2 separate regions of the Homo sapiens genome follow, and region 1 is linked to region 2. Evidence: promoter capture Hi-C in 16 types of primary human blood cells and fetal thymus (Javierre and others, 2016). All regions are on one chromosome and are shown on one strand. Each heading gives the region's core, a stretch centred on a gene start or on the middle of the fragment in contact. The rest is flanking DNA. Distances are from core to core; before and after follow the strand shown.

The links. The method cuts DNA at HindIII sites, captures the fragments that hold promoters and counts their contacts. A CHiCAGO score of 5 or more calls a contact.
Region 1: a fragment that was not itself captured here is called in contact with the fragment with the promoter of TMEM212 in region 2 in 1 of 17 cell types (M0 macrophages); the score reaches 5.6 in M0 macrophages.

Annotation. Positions count from the first base shown.
Region 1 is chr3:171,938,716-171,941,415 of GRCh38, forward strand. It overlaps LOC105374217 (a long non-coding RNA gene), which reads left to right and starts at 174. Exons shown (of 4, transcript XR_924718.4): 1 at 174-2,700. The HindIII fragment of the contact is 1,333 bases long and covers 697-2,029 here.
Region 2 is chr3:171,841,953-171,844,652 of GRCh38, forward strand. TMEM212 (transmembrane protein 212) reads left to right here and starts at 1,397. Exons shown (of 5, transcript NM_001164436.2): 1 at 1,397-1,590. The coding sequence starts at 1,432. The HindIII fragment of the contact is 2,451 bases long and covers 1-2,429 here.

The DNA.
Region 1 (2,700 bases), core at 113-2,612, 97 kb after region 2:
CGGGTTCAAGTGATTCTCCTGCCTCAACCACCTGATTAGGCTGGGATTACAGGCGCAATCACCACAGTTGGCTAATTTTTGTATTTTTAGTAGAGACAGGGTTTCACCATGTTGGCCAGGGTGGTCTCGAATGCCTGACCTCAGGTGATCCGCCCACCTCGGCCTCCCAAAGTGCCGGGATTACAGGCTTGAACCATGGCACTCGGCCTGGATTGAGATTTTCTTAATAGTCCTAGATGCTCTTTGAAATGTTCCACTGCTATCTCTGGCATGATATTATAGGTGTTCCTGCCTGGCACACTGCAGAAACCTGAGGTTGGGAGGCTTGTTAGCTGAAACATGTATTGATCTTATATGTATGAATCATTTCCAGTCGGACTCACTAGCCTGAGATTCCCTGGGGTGTGTGTGCACATGCAAGCACACTTACATGTGCAAGACTCAACCCCAAGTCTGAATTACACACGAGTGACAAAGGGAATGCGTCTCCAATTCACCTCTAACTGCTAAGCTCTCTCTCTCCTGTTCTCTTTTTATGCAGCACCCATGGACCCTTCTAGCAGACAGCAACTTTTCTCTTTGACTATAAATTGAAGGCAATTCAATGTTTTACCCCTCAGATCAGGGATCATACTGAAAAATTCCTTCTGCACGAGCCAGTGTGAGCCTGGCAAGAGGCACAGGAGATGGTCACCAAGCTTGATAACGAAAATAAATTGTTTTGAAGAGATCGTTAAAATTATGTTAGTAGGAATTGAATATTCAAGGTTACAGATTTAATTAATTATGAGTGTTTCTTTAGAATAATGTAATAAATGTTTCCTCTGAGGTTTCTGGTTGAAGCACTGGGCCTCATCTCAAGAAAGATTTAAGAGCATAAAGTATTTTAATTGTATAGATTGCAAGAGAGGGCATTTAAAATATGCAGAGTAATTGACACCTTCTCAAACCCCAGATGCAACCCTATTTCTAACTGATAAGGTGATATCCTGGAGCCTCCATACAAGAAGTAGTTTTGCCCAACAAATGGGAGAAGCCCCTTTGACAGCGTGAAATTCCAGTCACGGTGATGTAGCTCTAAGGAATCCCAGGTGAGCCCATTCTCTCACAGCCTGAAAGCAGAACATGCAGCAATGAAAATGTCCAATGCAGCTAGGACTTTTGTCACTCCATCTTTCTCTTTCTGCCTCATCTGAAGGGTAAATGACTTTGTGTTGTGTAAAAACATTTCACACCCCCTGTAAGAAGTGGGAATAAGGAGGCATGGGTAGCAGCAGTGAAGAGGTTTGAATGTCATTCTTTCTCATTTGAATAACTACCTTAAGAGTCCCCTTCTGTAGGAGTTAAGACCTCAAGTTTTATACAAAAGAGCCTTGGTCTGCATGCGATGTCCTCCCAGGCTTAGTTCACATTTTAAGAAAACTTCAGGGTGAGTGTAATTCTTACTATAAAGGAATGAACCAATACTAGTTGAATCTTAGGCACCCGAACAGGCAGTTTGAGAAAGTTGGGTATGATTTCCCTGGCTCCTTTCAAGTCACACCACAAGCAACTGCCTGGCACACAAGACAGACCTCTGTGCATACAGATGCATGTGTGGTGTGTAGTGGGAAGTTTGCTTTGGCTGGTCGTGGAGGGATCCATTTGTCTGGGGAGGTCTGGACAGCCAGTGGAGGCACTGCCTCCCTTGCCATCTTAGCAGCTTTAAGAGGGTGGAGTATTTTTCTTTGAGGCTAAGGTTGGCACAGATAACTTCCTCACCGAAATTTTCTGCCAGACTGAGTTTGGTGGGTTTTTTTTGGTTTGTTTTTTTGTTTTTTTGTTTTTTTTTCATTATTCCACCCACCCCTCACCCCACCCTCCAATCTTTGGTTGTTTCTGGCTTTTTGGCATCTGTTCCCTGGGTCGTATTTTTTCCTTCCTGATGCAGTGGATGCAAAGATACGCTTTCTCTTGGGTGAAATTTACAAGCACATTTTCCTCCTTGACAGAAACAAAGAGCCACAAAGATTTCCTAGGGAGAGAAAAAAGCTTCCAGATGCAGGGCTCCAAATGTGAGGGTTTTTTTCCCTTTGGCATTTTTTAAGCTTAATAATTACACTGGACATATTTATTCAGAAGAAGGCCCACAGTTTTCATCCTAACAGGGACTTCATTAAAATTTCCAAGTAACAAATACATCTTTTCTCTGATGCCTGGGTTCCATGCCATTTACCTCTATCTTAAAGAAGTTACCTCTGAGACCTTGAGTTTCAACTCTGACTAGAGATGCAAGGCGATAGGGAAAGGTCCTTTTTTCCTCTCTTTTTTCTTAGCCATGGTGCAGAATAATAAAAGAAAAGGAATTCCTAAACTCTTGAACTGTTAGCAAACTTCTTTTAATTATCTCTAGTTAAAGGGCAACTGAGAAGACAATTATAAATGTCAAGAAGATTGTTCAACAAACTTTTATAACCCACAGCACACTTTTATATTTTTAAAAGTGATTAAAGCGTTCTAATTGGTATCATTTTCTATTTCAGAATAGTACTTTCCAAGACTTAAAAAAATGCTTCAGTTTATAAGACCTGTAATCTAAAATTTTCACTAACCATAATCAGAATAATGTATGGGAAATACTTAGTTCATATATGGAAAATCATCCACATTTTAAAAAAAAGTTTTGAAGAAACTTTTTAAAAAGTTGTAGCTACTTATGTT
Region 2 (2,700 bases), core at 147-2,646:
GGGAGGGTCCTTTGGGAGTTTTTACCAAATTGTTCAGGAAGAGTTAAACATGATGTTTTTAAGGTGATGAATTTAAAAAAAAACCACAATAAGTGCACCTTTGTCCCACGATGGAAGGACCCCAAAGGTGGAACATCCCAATTTAACAAGAGTAACTTTCTGAACATCTTCGTTATGCTAAACTCTGGGCTAGGCATTTATGGTTTTAGCTCATTTAATCCTCTCAACCAAATCCATTAAAGATAAACACTAACTTTTATTCCCATTTCGCATACGAATAAATAGACCTAGAGAAGTTAAGTAACTTGCCCTTACTCAAGGACACAAACCTGGTAGAGAGTGGAACCAGAATCGGATCACAGCTCCATCTGACTCAAAATCGATGTCCTAAACCACTTCATTTGCATTCATAAAATTATTTTTCATCCTTTTATTTCAGTAAAAAGGAATAATGTATTAATGTTAAATAGGAAAATTATTCAGATGGCTTCAGAAACTGACCTGTGTTTTTAAGATATTTTTTTGAACAGACATCCACATATATCCAATCAGTCAAAATCAAATAACACCATTTTCTCAAATGCATGAAAAAGTAAGAGATGACTTGTAACTGCCTAAATGTACCTAAGTTCAATATCTCAAATTAGAATTATGATTCAAGAATGAATGGGGATCAGCATTTTATTCAACTGATGAATTGCTCCTCAAAGTTTATTTTATTTTATAACTGCATACATTTCCATCATCACACTTTAATTGAAAATTAAATTAATAGTAAAATAAGGTGAAACTGGTTTAGTGAAAACAATGCAAAACTCCATAATAAAGTTCATGCCCATTTGGGAATGAATCCATATCAAAAATCTTTATCAAAAATAATTGTAGTGGAATTAAACTTTGAAAGGAGGTGAAGGTCTTGCTTTGGGTTGAAATCATTTAAATTAAATATAATGAAAAGTGACCAGGGTGCTTATTTTTACTTTGTTTTGTGGGAAATTGTGCTGGGAATGTGGATCTATTGTACACAAAGGATGTTGGCTTTATGCTGGAACCACTAGGCAGGTTGAGTTGAGAAACAATTAGCTCAGTCAGCAAGCCTTTGAATCTGATTAAGCCAGGAAGTGGTCACTCCCCAGGACAGGGCAGAATGAAGGGAATCAAGGCAGCAATCCAAAGCAAGGGATAATTTTTTTCTCTCTTTCTCTTAAATAAATTGTTATTAGAATTTATTGTGTCAAATTTATGCCAAGGACTATTTGAGTACATTTCATCTTTGGTAAAACAAATAGAATCTTGTTTCCAAGTAGATCAACAGTTCGTATGTGTCGTGGCTACTGTCTCTAAGAAACTTCTATTTACTGAGGCCTGTCATACGCTCATGTTTTGGTAACAAAACATCTTTGAGACCAAGGCCTCAAGCCACCAAGGAAAATGAAGGGCCTCTACCAGGCTGCTGGCCGGATTCTTGTTACTCTGGGGATCCTCAGTGTATGCTCTGGAGTTATTGCTTTCTTTCCTGTCTTTTCTTACAAGCCTTGGTTCACAGGATGGAGTGTTCGAATTGCTTGTCCTATCTGGAATGGAGCTTTGGTATGAAAATAGTTTATTAAATATATTGAGAAAATAAAAGAAGGTGGGAGGGAAAGGGAAAACAGAAGAACATATCCTTTTAAATTGTTCTAACAATACAAAGAAGTCAAAATTCCACAAAAAATCAGAATCCGCCTTGGAACATTGATTTCTATTAATTGCATTTTAAGTATAAAAATGATCTTAATATTGTTTTATCATGTATACATGTATATTATGTATTTTTAATGACATGCTGCTCAAGAAATTCTTAAAAAGTTATTTTATTTTAATCCACTTAACTTGATATGCTAAGAAATTAGAATCTTTTGAAATGTGAATTTTGAATTTAGAAAAAAACATAAACCTTGAAAAGTAATTTTAAAATACAGAACAAAGTAAAATAATTTTCAAACTAATGCTTTCATTGCAAACACTAAGATGTACATGGCCCCAAAATTTACAAACCCCAAATATTTGTTTTTCCACCTTTCTCTTGCAAGCAACTGTTTGAACTGAAAATAACTCAATAATTTTCAATTATTTGAAAATAATTCAAATAATTCAATAATTCAAGATGGACTTCACAATTCACTAGGAAAGTACATGTGCCAAGTACAGCGTACGACACTAAGTAGTACTCCGTGTGCGCTCATTGAATCATTGCACAGATAAACGATTGGCCTGGTCCCTTAGCTCTCCAACCAAAAAAAAATGGGCACATCTAGTCTTGGGAGTAACTGGCTTCCATGCTGGTATGATTTAAGAGAAGTTACAGAGACCCACCTGTCCAACAAATCCTTCTCTCATTGATTCCTGTGACGCCTGACACTACTGGAGACTGGAGAATTCAATATTGAAGCTTTTTGATCTTAAGGAATCTTCTATTAAAATGTAGCCACTTGGCCGGGCATGGTGGCTCACGCTTGTAATCCCAGCACTTTGGGAAGCCAAGGGGAGCGGATCACGAGGTCAGGAGTTCGAGACCAGCCTGACCAACATGGCGAAACCCCGTCACTACTAAAAATACAAAAATTAGCTAGGCGTGGTGGCATGCACCTGTAATCCCAGCTACTCAGGAGACTGAGGCAGGAGAATCACATGAACCTGGGAGGCAGAGTTTGCAGTGAG